Regions from separate parts of the Homo sapiens genome. Here region 2 is linked to region 1. The links are contacts of gene promoters, found by promoter capture Hi-C in blood cells and fetal thymus (Javierre and others, 2016). All regions are on one chromosome and are shown on one strand. The core of a region is centred on a gene start or on the middle of the fragment in contact, and the rest is flanking DNA. Distances in the headings are between cores, read along the strand shown. Region 1 holds the start of ZNF746 (zinc finger protein 746). Region 2 holds the start of ZNF398 (zinc finger protein 398).

Region 1 (6,587 bases), core at 971-3,470:
TGCCATATGAATGGCACCGAGAATAAAAATTATTAGAGTTGGGACAATGCAGAGCTTGCTGCAGCCGTGATTGGCATGGAGAGACTTAACTGGAAGAATTAGGGCATATGCTGGTCTGGAAAAGGTGTGAGAACTTCGGGTGGGCAAGAGGAGAGGGGAAAAGCATGAGGAAAGGCACAGGAGTGGAAACTCTCATGCCTGCTTTTGACACCTGTGCCCAAAATGGAGGGAAAGGCTTTGGAAGCCTCATATATCAATCCAAGGAGGTTTATCTTCGTTCTTTTTACAAATAGAGGCTGGAAAACCAGCACCAGAGATGCTCTGCAATAGATGCCTGTCTTCAGTGGAGGACAGAGCAAGTCATCATTACCCTAACTTGGCTGTCTGCAGAGCCCCAGCTTCACCCTTACCTCAACCCCTACAAGGAACTTGTTAAAAAGAGACCTTCTTTTAAAATAAGTTTTCTCCACATTACTCAGGACCCATCCCAAAGACATTTTGATTCAGTAGATATGAGATGGGATCCAGAAATCCATATCCTTCACAAGCTTCCCCAGAGACTGATGCAGCTGCTCTGAGAGCCAGGCTTGGAAATTACTACCTAGAGATGACCCTGGCATATCCGACTCAGCCTGTCAAAAGGGAACTTTTTAAATTGCACACTAAAAATGTCTCTTTATTTCTAATGCACTGTATTTCTGTCACCCAGTGGTGTGATCTCCACTCACTGCAACCTCTGCCTCCCGGGTTCAAGCGATTCTCGTACCTCAGCCTCCCCAGTAGTTGGGATTACAGGTGCGTGCCACCACGCCTCGCTAATTTTTTCTATTTTTAGTAGAGACGGGGTTTTGTCATGTTGCTCAGGCTGGTATCAAACTCCTGAGCTCAGGCAATCCACCCATCTTGGCCTCCCAAAGTGTTAGAATTACGGGCGTGAGCCACTGCGCCCGGCCCTAAAATGCTTTATATCTTCCTACATCAATTTTTTTTTGGGCTGTCATCCAGCTCACACCTCTACTACCACCCTCTGGTCTGAAATGCTCTCTGCCTATCAATATTTTGCCAATTCTTCAAGATCCAGCTCAAATTTTATCTATTCTGTAAGGTCTGCCTTCTTTGAAAAAGATTACAGATCTCTCACATATTTTCTTATCAGTGTGTGCTAGGCAGTTGGCTAGTTAGTCTTGGGGAATACACAGATGAGCAAGTCGTGTTCCTGAAAGGCAATGAGCCTCTGAAACTACGTGGGGGCCCGTCCAAGGCGCCCTCCTTCCCCTGCTCTGGTTGGCCTCTTTGAGAACATTTAAATTTTTATTTTTCTCTCCTTGTTTAAAAATACTATCCTTGTCATGGAAAAATAAAAACATGAATTGGAAAAAATTAGAAAAGGCATAAAAACGGCCCGTGGTCTATTAAAGGAATAGACCTTTAATAGAACTACTGAGGCCATGTTGATATATATGCTTCCAAACTTTTCAAAACTGTAATTATACATGTACGCAGTATATGACGCTACATATGTCCTATATTGTTTTAAAATGTTATTTTTAAAACAAAGACAGGATCGTCCTGGACAGGCTTTTTCTCTTAAAACATCATGAACATCTGTTCCTACCAAGACCTTCACCGAAATCATTTTAAATGATGGTATTGCGTCCCATTGCTCATGCCATTAAAAAAATTTACTGTAATAAACCCATTACAGAAAATGCTAAGTGGTTGCCTACCGGGGTTTACCGAACTATATTCCTGTTGTTGGAAGTATTTATTCCATTTCAAACACAGGTGGGCATGAGTTACATCTGTCCTCCCCAAAATAGCCTAAACCTCCAGACCCAGGACCTCGGGCAGCAGAAGTGCCCGTGGGGCGGGGGAAGGGGAGCCGGGCATCCCAGGGCGAGGGGGCCGCCCTGGCCGCGGTCACCCGGGGGACGCCCTGCCCGGAAGCCCGTGCTCGCCCGCGGGCGCGGCCAGGCGGGTCCCATGAGGGGGACCCTTTCAATAACCGAGTCCTCGGGCTGGGCCGCGGGGCCAGCGCAGTGACTCCCCCCGCGCTCGGCAGTCCGGCCGGGGTCGCGGGGTCGCGGGGTCGCGGGGTCGGCCCGGGGTCGCTAGGTCCTCCCGTCGGGCCCCGCGGGCGGGGCTGGGCGGGGCGGGGCGGGGCCGCGGGCAGGCGGGCGCAGCGCCTGCCGTTCGCCTCTCAGGCTGCAGGTGGGGCTGTGCGGCCGCGCTGCCTCCAGGAAGCCTCACGGGCCTTCGTCTGCCGGGCCGCGGCGCCGGCTCCCAGGATGCAGTGTGGACCGGCCGGGCGCTGACGGAGGCGGCGCGACTGCGGGCGGCGCGGCGCAGGGGCAGCCAGCGAGGAGCGGCGGCAGAGGAAAGGCCAGGCAGGCGCCGCCTGCGGAGAGCACCGGGCGGCCGGGCCTGCGTGGTGCCGCGCGCGGCGGCGGCGACGACGACTTCCTCCGGGCCGGGCGGGACAGCGCAGGGCCATGGCCGAGGCGGTCGCGGCTCCGGTAAGGGCGACCCGCGCGCGCAGGGACTCGCGGCCTGGGGGCCCCAGGCGGCCCGGCCCCGGCACACGGCGCCGCAGGCCCTGGGGAGGGGTTCCGGGGTCCGGGCCGGACCACCGGGCCTGGGGCTCCCGCGAATGGGGCGCGGGGTCCGCCGGGGCCTACTGCGCCCGTCGGCCGGGCCCCCACTCCGAGCCGAACCCGAGCGCTGGCGGAACGGTTGTCCCCGCCCCGGGCCGCCCCACGCCAAGTTCTTTGGGCCCTCCGGGGCTTCCTGCCCCCGCCCCAGCCGCTGTCCCCTCCTTCTGGGTGCCCCCCCACCCGCGGCTCCTTTCTCTGCCTGGCGCTCGGCCTGTAGGTCCCTCTCCATCTCCCCCGCAGCGGCCTGGTGGCACCTGGGAGGTGTCCGGCTTCGAATCCGCATACACCGACTCCCACTACGTGCCCAGCTTCCCGGGGTCGGCGCGGAAGGGAATATAGAGCCACGCACTTCCACAAGCCCTGTTGAGGCGTTAGTCTGTCCTCACAGCAAGCCTGTGGGATGGGTACTGGTGTTAATCTCTGTCATACAAAAGAAAAACCCGGGGCCTAGAGAACTTAACTTGCCCAGGCTTACCCAGCTGGAAAGTGTGAAAAGACACACAGTGGCTGTGTGTTCAAGGACCAGGCAGGCAGGTACGCGGGCAATAATCGTGCAAAACAGAAAGGGGTGAGTGCTGGCGCCCAGGTGGAAGCTTGCGGTGGGCTCCGGGGGAAGGAGTGTCAGGGGGCCTCTTGGTACCGCTGTCCACCCCTCCTGGCCTGATGCTCTGCGCCTCTGTGATTTGAGCCGGGCTTTTAGGGAAGGCTAGGATTTCAGGCCCAGCTAGACCGGTGGTGCTTTCAGGGAGGGAGGAGTGCCTGGGCAAAGGCGCAGAGAGACGGGACAGTGCAGGGCGTGTGCAGGCACAGAAAGGAGTCCATGAGCCTGGAGAAGATGGTTTTGGTTTGGAGGCAGTGGGAAAGGAGTCTGCAGAGAGAGACTAAGAAGGGGTTTGCATGCCTGGACTTCATCCTGCGGGTGGGCAGTGGATGAGGGATCCGGCTCCTCTTACCATCAGCTCCTCTCAAGCAAAGAGTTTCAGCTCCCCTGGCAGGAGTCCAAGGACAGCCCCACATATTCCAGCCACTTGTCAGTAAGAAGCTGGGCTGGAGTGAGCAGCGCACAGTCGCCACCTCCCACCACATAGTGTGAAGACCTTACACAGGGTTTCCTGGCCCCATCAGAACTGTAAGAAAACCATGCACCTTGTTGTCCATGAGTAAAAGACTAATATTTTCTTAATAAAGTAGTTTAGCAGAGGTCCCTTTCATGCCACACAAAGCCCATAATAATGCACGTGGAGGATGGGTAGGATTTCAGTGGATAAGGAGCTGGTGACCAGTTGAAAGGAAGCTTCTGGAGTAAACTCTTGGCGTCTGGGATCACGTGACAGGGATTGATCTGAGAAAGGAGAGGTGAGGGAAGGAACAGTGGCCTTAGGTGGAGGGTGGACTCAAGCCCAGAACCACGCTGGCCCACCCAGGTGCTGTAGGACCACCTACTCCTTGAGAGCAAGACTCCCACCCGCATTGGGGTTTTCGCCTAGAAACAGTTCAGCTTGTCCAGAATCTCCCAGCCTTGAAGACCCCTTAGAGTCCTACCTTCTTTGGGTCCTGCTTCCTTCCAAATAGATAGTATCTTAAGCACTGTCCTAGACAAGTTTGTTTCTCCCTCTGCTCAAACTCTCCTTTTGTCTCTATTTTTTGAGCTGTCCATCCGCATTCTAGTTCTCAGTGACTTTCTCTAAGTGAATCCACACTGGTTTCTAGTAGCTACTTCTTCATTTTGGAAATAATCACCAACCTTTTGTTGAGGAATTATTTTGCAGAATGTTGTAAGGAGGCGTTGATCCTCAGGTCCCGATACCAGGAGCTCCTCTGTGCCCTGTAGGTCCCACATTCAGATGTGGGTGGCTCAAACAGTCCAGCTCCCTACCCACCGCAAAATGTGCCCATTCTTCCTTGTCCCAGCTGCCGGTCACTGATACGCCATGTGAACATTTCCAATGACAGGGAAGGCCCCCGTCTCTAATTAAGATGGTTGCTGTCCATATACAAGTCTAACTGTGGCATATATGTACTTTCCTCACCAGACTGCAGGGTATGTCACTGCTCCTGGTACAGCTACAAAAATGTCGGAGGCCGTCATTTTTACCTTGAGGGGGTGGGAATTGGGAAAGAGAAAGAATCTTGTAGGGCTCAGGCAGTGTCAAAAAGCCTAACTCTGGACTGATGGAGATTTGCAGTCATGGGGATTTTAGCTTGTGGGGGAGGGGCAGATGGGAAGGTGACAAAATGAGACTGTCCTGGGGGAAGAGGAACTGGCCATTAGATTTTTATGTTTGTTAAAAGGGGACATGAGATGCTTTAAAAAACAAAAAAAGAAAAAAGAAATTGAGCAATACTCTTGTTTGTGCCGTTTCAGTGAACCAGCTGTTTTTTTTGCTGGGTCATCATCAGTAGACAGTTCCTGTGTAATCATGAGGGGAGGTGCAGGCTGCGCTCTAGTAAATCTGCAGTTTACCATTTCTCCACTAAAATGCCCAGCAATGCTAAGTCACTGTTTACGTAACAAAATTGCACTGGGTACCTGCCATGTGTCAAGGACAGTGGTATGAAAAGATGCAATACCATGTTCAGGGAGCCCACAGTGTAGGTGTGGGTAGGAAATTATTGTGTAGGGTGATAAGCACCGTGATAAGGGTCTGCATTGTGCTGCAGAGGCCTGGAGTAAAGGCACCCACCCAGACATAGACCTAACATACCCAAGCAGGTGATGGCCAACCTGAGATCTGGCATGTGGTATAGGATAGCCCCACTTGTCCACACATATGGACTCCCAGCCCAACTCCCCCGTGCCTAGGGAGAGAGGGGCTCAATGAAGACAGTGGATGGAATGAGTGATGCCAGTTTCTCTTTTGTTTCTGAAAGATTTCTCCGTGGACGATGGCAGCCACGATTCAGGCCATGGAGAGGAAGATTGAATCGCAGGCTGCTCGCCTGCTTTCCCTAGAAGGTCGAACCGGGATGGCCGAGAAGAAGCTGGCTGATTGCGAGAAGACAGCCGTGGAGTTCGGGAACCAGCTGGAGGGCAAGTGGGCCGTGCTGGGGACCCTGCTGCAGGAGTACGGGCTGCTGCAGAGGCGGCTGGAGAACGTGGAGAACCTGCTGCGCAACAGGAACTTCTGGATCCTGCGGCTGCCCCCGGGCAGCAAGGGGGAGTCCCCTAAGGTAGCCCTGGGACGCCTTGGGGTGTGGGAGCCCAAGCGGCCAAACCCGTGAGCGTGTGGGTGAGCGAGTGTGACACTTGTGGTTCCAGGTGCCCGTGACCTTTGATGATGTGGCCGTGTATTTCTCCGAGCAGGAGTGGGGCAAGCTGGAGGACTGGCAGAAGGAGCTCTACAAGCACGTGATGAGGGGCAACTACGAGACGCTGGTCTCCCTGGGTAAGGCCTGACACTCATTTCTCTGTTAAATGGGATTTTGCAAGTCCTCAGAATTCTCCCTCCACATAGTTGTTTTCATGTCAGTGTTATATAAATCACCAGAAACATTGTTGACCTTGCAAGTTGTTACCTTTTGTGAAGGATGAGCCCTGGGTGATGGAGTTAAAAGCTCCCTTCTCCCTGTGTTGAGTTTCCCAGAATGCCAGTCTGGGAACGGCGGTGGCTTCTCTCCTACGCAGGCCCGGGATGTGGACCTTTCTGTTCTTGCTGACTTGGAGCGGGGAAGGCCCCATCTGCTCTCAGATCCAGTATGTAATTGACTCACATTTGAGAAAGACTCTTTCCTTCAGCCTTCTCCTACAAACATGCGTGGCCCTTACGGCAACATGCCTCGAGGTCAGTGGAGAACATGGGCAGACGGTGCTGCTTGCAGCAGACATTTTCTTCATGCCTCAAAACTTTGCTTCCCTCAGCCCCTGGGGCTACTGCTCTTCTCCTTGTTTAATCCTGCCCAGGAAGGGCCTGGACTCTGTTTCTTCCTGGGCTG
Region 2 (6,353 bases), core at 1,842-4,341, 350 kb after region 1:
ATCACGAGGTCAGGAGATTGAGACCATCCCGGCAAACACGGTGAAACCCCCCTCTCTACTAAAAATACAAAAGGACCCGGGCGTAGTGGCACGCGCCTGTAGTCCCAGCTACTCGGGAGGCTGAGGCAGGAGAATCGCTTGAACCGGCAAGGCAGAAGTTGCAGTGAGCCCAGATGGCGCCACTGCACTCCAGCCTGAGGGACAGAGTGAGACTCCACCTCAAAAAATAAATAAATAAATAAATTGATGACATGTTGAAATAATATTTTGCATATATTGAGTTAGATATATAATTAAAATTAATTTCATCTATTTATTTTTTAACTTCTCAAAAATTTTTTTTATTTTAGAGACGCGGTGTGGACTGCCTCGAACTCCTGGACTCAAGTGATTCTTCCGCCTCAGCCCCCGGCCTAGCTGGGACTACAGGCGTGCACAACACAGCGCCTGGCTTTTTACTTTTTAAACGTGACGCCTAGAGAATTTAAGCAGGGGTGTCCAATCTTTTGGCTTCCCTGGGCCACACTGGAAGAACTGTCTTGGGTCACACATAAAATACTGATCATGATAGCTGATGAGCTAAAAAAAAAAAAAAAAAAAAAAAAAAAAGACAAAGAAAAAGGTCCGTGCATAAATCTCATGATGTTCTAGGAAAGTTTACGAATTTGTGTTGGGCCGCATTTAAAGCAGTCCTAGTCCGCATGCGGCCTGGGGGCCGCGGGTTGGACAAGCTTGATTTAGAGTTTTGTATGCGGCTTCCCTTATATTTCTATTAGCCAGGACTGGCACAACACAGGATCATCGCTACCATCCCACCTATACACAAAAAAAAAGGTTGGAAAAAAGAAAAACAGGTCCAAGAGTGGAGGTGGCACTTCCCTCTGCTCTACCCCCTACCCATCGCTGCTCTTCCTCCTTTTCCCAGTCACCCCTCATGTGCCAGGGTGGCTCCTGACCCAGTACAATTGCTCTCCTAGAGGTGACCAAAGACCTCTTGGGTGGCAAATGCGATCAGTGCTTTCCCCGCGGCCTGACCGTCCCCTTCTCATTCTACGGGGCTGCGTGCAGGCGCGGCCCGGTCGCCTCGGTCGCCCTGGCAACTGGCCGCTGCCGGCCCCCGCAGGCCTTGGCAAACACCCGCGAATGAACCGCCACGCACGCGAGGCCACTCCAGCCTCCGGGTCCGCACCATTCATTCGGCAGCTATTTCGGGAGGGCCTCCCGCGTGTCCCGAGTCCGGTGCCGGGAGCCCAGGCGTCACGCAGCGCGGCGGGAATGCGCCTCCGCACACTTAAATGCCGCCCGCGCCACCGCTCAGATTGCTGGTGACGAACGCTCCCGCGGCCGCGAGAATGGCTGACGGCTCCCCAGCCCAACCCCGCTGCGCGTCTGGCGGGCAGGCGTGGGGCTGACACGCAGCAGGCACCCCCTCGACTTCAACCCAACTGCAGGGCCCCGGGTCTCATAGCTGCCTGCGAGTGCCCCTCAGACCTGCGGCCCAGCCTGGTGTCCCCGGGTGGGCGGTTTCACACCCACCCGCTAAGTCCCCTCACGCGAGGCTGCAGCCGCCAAGCACGGGCGACAGGCGACGTGGCCGGCGGGACCCGAGAACGGCGCCTATGCCTGGCAGCTCCCTGCCCGCCCGCCTTCCTCCCTCGGGGTCTGGGTCTCGGGGGCTCACAACACTCGCGCGCGGCCGCCCTTACCGGGGCCGGGGCCGCCTCAGCCATGGCCCTGCGCTGTCTAGCCCGGGCCTCGGAAGTCGCCGCCGCTGCCGCCGCTGCCACCGCGCCCGGCTCCAAGCAGGCCCGGCCGCCGGGTCCTCTCCACAGGCGGCGCCGACCCGGCCCTGCCTTCCCCGCACGGACGGGACTCACGCGGCCGTCGGGGCTCGGGACGCGCAGGAACGCGGCGGAGGCGCGGTGCAGCAGGCGGCGGATCAAGCTGGGGTCGCGAGGCCGACTCCGCCGCACTCCACCCGCAGCGGCCCCTCAGCTGGCGCTTTGTGGGCAGCGAGTGCACCGGGAACCGCGCGGGCCTAGACGCGCCGCAGGCTCGCGCTGCCCAGCCACCGCGGCCAGCGCGCCCCCTGCCGGCCCCTGCGGCCAGCGCCCCCCGCGTCGCCTCCGCCCCTCCCCCCCAGCTCTTGGGCTTCGGTGTGGGGAGGGTTGTTATTTGGGGCCCACGTGTGTTCCGCTTTCTCACATTCCCACGAGAAGGTTCAGCTCACCGCAGTTTAGGACCCAGCCGCAAAGCCGGGCTCATTCTGGGGAGTGATTTTCTTCACGGAGGCTCGATACGCAGGCGCCGTCTGCAGGCAACAGCTTCTGCTGAAGGGCAGCCGTATTTAGAACAGCGGAAATGTGCAGGGTGAGAGTAAGGGGGACACGGCTGAAGGGAGCCTATGGGTGGAATGAGTGACGGAGAGGCACAATTTTGGAATGAAGAAGATATAGATCATTTGCGGAAATTACAAATGTGGTTGCCAAGGTGAGGCGGTTCAGGTCCCACGCGGCCTGTGTTGGGATCAATAATATTTTAAGGTCTCCTTCACATCTCGGATTATTGACTCTCCGGGGCCTGGTCTGGAAATAGGATTCTTAATTTTTGTTTATTTATTTATTTAGAGACGGAGTCTCACTCCGTCGCCCAGGCTGGAGTGCAGTGGCGGGATCTCGGCTCACTGCAACCGCCTTCCGGGTTCAACCGATTCTCCTGCCTTTGCCTCCCAAGTAGCTGGGATTACAGGCATGTACCACCATGCCCAGCTAATTTTTTTTTTTTTAAGTGGAGACGGGGTTTCACCATGTTGGCCAGGCTGGTCTGAAACTCCTGACCTCAAATGATCCACCCGCCTTGGCCTCCCAAAGTGCTAGGATTACAAGCGTGAGCCATTGCGCCCGGCCTTATTTATTGATTTATTTAGAGACAGTCTCCCTCTGTCGTCCAGGCTGGAGTGCAAGTGGCACAAACAAGGCTCACTGCAGCCTTAAACTGCTGGGCTCAAACGATCCTTCCCCTCAGCCTGCCCGAGCATCTTGGACTACAGGCGCAGCTACCAAGCCCGGCTAATGTTTTATTTATTTGTATTTATTTATTTACTTATTTATTTTTCTGTAGAGACAGGGTCTCGCTATGTTGCCCAAGCTGGAGGAAGTGGAATTCCTGAGAGCAGCAGAGATCGAGCTTGGGGTTACGGTTTGCTGCGTCTGAGCAAAAGGACCTGCGAGAACAGGCCGAGCGCAGTGGCTCACGCCTGTAATTCCAGCACTTTGGGAGGCCGAGGCGGGCAGATCACCTGAGTTCCAGACCAGCCTGGCCAACATGGTGAAACCCCGTCTCTACTAAAAAATACAAAAATTAGCCGGGCGTGGTGTCGTGCACCTGATATTCCAGCTGCTCCGGAGGCTGAGGCAAGAGAATCGCTGGAACCCAGGAGGCGGAGGTTGCAGTGAGCAGAGATGGCAGCACTGCACTCCACCCTGGGCGACAGAGCTAGACTCCATCTTAAAAAAAAAAAAAAAAAAAAAGGACCTGCGAGAACAAAGTGTTTTCTGGTGAGGTTGTGTTTTAAGTCAACAGAGTGTGTGTAACAGCAGTAGGTTCCTTGCCCAATGCACATAGCAAGTCTATATGCAGAGACACCAGGTTGCAGCAGAGAAAGAGGTCTAATCATAGGGCCACCTAAGGAGGAGACAGGAAGAAGCCTCACATCCATCTCTGCTAGGAATTTGGGAATTTGGGGTTAGAGTTTGTAAGGGTAATGGAGTTGACTGATTGGTGGGAGAGTGCTGGTGAAATCGTGGTACAAGGAGATGAAGAAACTACATTCTCATGCTCATCCCATTCCTCTGTGGGGGGTCTTCAAACTGGTTGAACTCAACTGTTTCACCGGAACTCGTGGTCTGAAAAACATCTTAAGCGATCCTTAAACAAAAGCCTTATGATTCTAATGTCAGAGATCCTGTCTACAGGAACAACAGGGATGCAAATCAATTCTTAGTCTGATGTCTGAAATCCTATCTATAGGAACAATAGAGATGCAAATGTCAGTATCTAGTGCCTTGTGACTATTAGCAACAAGGAAGTAGGCCGAAGTGCAGCCTGATTAATGCTTAATTATAACTATATTTCTGTCCAGAACCTGCATGCAATTTTTGTGAACCCTGTTGGGGCGGTTTCATGTGTGTGGTGATAGGATAAGCACATGACCCTGGTTTTCCAGGAAGTCTTCATTTCAAACATGTATGAATCAAACCCTGCTAAACCTGTATTTCAACACATGAATCAAGTCAATGCCCATAACAGTATAACTATCTGTAAATCACAAAAGTATGAGAACTATCCTGTTGGGGCAACTGCTCTTGAGCAGACTAAGTTACTTTTCGCCTGTGGCTACATATGCAGTCCGTAATTTGGGATTTACCTGAATATACATATTTGTCAGATGGTGAATGCTTAATAATGAAAATTGCCATTCTCTGACTCACAATATGAGTAGATTACAAAAAAATAATAATCTGAATTTTCTTGGAAAGAAAATTCTGTTGTATAATTTTATTATTTAAAATGTAGTAGCCGAGAAGCCGGGCACGGTGACTCACGCCTATAATCCCAGCACTTTGGGAGGCCGAGGTGGGTGGATCGCCTAAGGTCAGGAGTTGGAGACCAGCCTGAACAACACGGTGAAACCCCATCTCTACTAAAAATAGAAAAACTAGCCGGGCGTGGTCGTGGGTGCCTATAATCCTAGCTACTCAGGAGGCTGAGGTAGGAGAATCACTTGAACCTAGGAGGAGGAGGTTGCAGTGAGCGGAGATTGCACCATTGCACTCCAGCCTGGGAAACAAGAGTGAAACTCCATCTCAAAAAAGAAAAAAAAAAATGTAGTAGCCGAGCACAGTGGGAGGCCGAGGTGGGTAGATTGTTGGAGCCCAAGAATTCAAGGCCAGTCAGGGCAACCTGGTGGGACCCTGTCTCCATAAAAAAATACAAAAATTAGCCTGAAATGGTAATGCACACCTGTCGACCCAGTTACTCGGGAGGCTGAGGTAAGATCACTTGAGCCAGGGAGGTTGAAGCTGCAGTGAGCTGTAATAATACCACTGCACTCCAGCCTGGGCGACAGACTGACATCCCATCTCCAAAAAAAAAGTAGTAAAGTTTTCAAGTTTGATGTTATAAGGCAAGAACAACAATTTCTGTCAGATGCTCCTATGGCCATTTAACAGGGACATTTGTATTACTAAATAAGACTTCCAACTGAGCTCCATAGAAAGCAAGGCTACCTCTCTGCTTTAATATGGTAATATTACCACCAACTTATTAAATGTTCCTTCCTTGAATAGGAATATATTAAGACAAGAAATTCTTCCTATTTAATTCTTGGCCTTAAAAATTCTTTGGATGGTACTGGCATTTCATTAAGCAATTTCACTGACTGAAGCTTTTTGTGTACTGTTTAAAGAAGATGCACAATATTTTCAGAAGCAGATGTAAGGTTGTTGTACTAACTTATTTTTAATTTATAATATTTTTGTCTGCTCTTGCTGCTATACATAATCACTAGAGAAAAAAATTGTCCTAAAAGTTTGGATCTAGAAATGTGACTATGAAACAATTTAATTGGCTTTTTTGGGGGGTTGTTTGTTTGTTTTTTGAGATGGAGTTTTTACTCTTGTTGCCCAGACTAGAGTGGAATGGCGCAATCTCTGCTCACTGGAACCTCTGCCTCCCGGGTTCAAGTGATTCTCCTGCCTCAGCCTCCCAAGTAGCTGGGATTACAGGCATGCGCCACCATGGGGGCTAATTTTGTATTTTAAGTAGAGACGAGGTATCACCATGTTGGCCAGGCTGGTCTCGAACTACTGACCTCAGGTGATCTGCCCACCTCGGCCTCCCAGAGTGCTGGGATTACAGGCGTGAGCCACCGCACCCTGCCAATTGGTTTTTGAGTTAACAAAATAATCCCAGTTTCCATCTGCATCTTGACTTTCCCTGCATATGCACACCAATTTCAGCATCTTCCTTTGCACAGAATCAAGGACAGATTTTTTTCAGCATGTATGATGTAAAAAATACACTGATGGCACATCAATTTATTCAGCAAGTTCCAACAAACTCTTTTGTCTTCAAGCAACCATTGGTTATTGGTAAATCTTGCTACATTGGTAATATTCTCTGAAAATTACAAAATTAAAGCCTTTATCCGATCAGCTTTAGAAGGACGTAATAATTGCACCACCTTGCTTCAGTATCTTGTAAAACAAGACAGTTTCAAAATCTACAATGTTCCTGCTTGCCGCCAGTAATTTTCTTTTCTTTTCTTTTTTGAGATGGAGTCTCGCTCTGGC

What was found. Contacts are between HindIII fragments. The CHiCAGO score rates a contact against its expected background, and 5 or more counts as called.
Region 2: a fragment that was not itself captured here is called in contact with the fragment with the promoter of ZNF746 in region 1 in 10 of 17 cell types (neutrophils, fetal thymus, total B cells and 7 more); the score reaches 10.8 in neutrophils.

What each region holds. Positions count from the first base shown.
Region 1 is chr7:149,493,442-149,500,028 of GRCh38, reverse strand. It overlaps ZNF746 (zinc finger protein 746), which reads left to right and starts at 2,220. Exons shown (of 7, transcript NM_001394198.1): 1 at 2,220-2,516; 2 at 5,526-5,825; 3 at 5,914-6,040. The coding sequence starts at 2,493. RefSeq lists silencers at 1,856-2,525, 2,766-2,825 and enhancers at 2,959-3,902, 4,697-5,896. The HindIII fragment of the contact is 2,699 bases long and covers 551-3,249 here.
Region 2 is chr7:149,143,120-149,149,472 of GRCh38, reverse strand. It overlaps ZNF398 (zinc finger protein 398), which reads right to left and starts at 2,020. Exons shown (of 6, transcript NM_170686.3): 1 at 1,707-2,020. The coding sequence starts at 1,730. It overlaps LOC107986856 (a long non-coding RNA gene), which reads left to right and starts at 2,112. Exons shown (of 2, transcript XR_007060581.1): 1 at 2,112-2,490; 2 at 3,121-6,353. RefSeq lists silencers at 1,106-1,155, 1,296-1,445, 1,740-1,911, 1,576-2,215 and enhancers at 1,521-2,094, 2,526-2,575, 2,669-3,242, 3,243-3,816, 3,817-4,390. The HindIII fragment of the contact is 4,715 bases long and covers 734-5,448 here.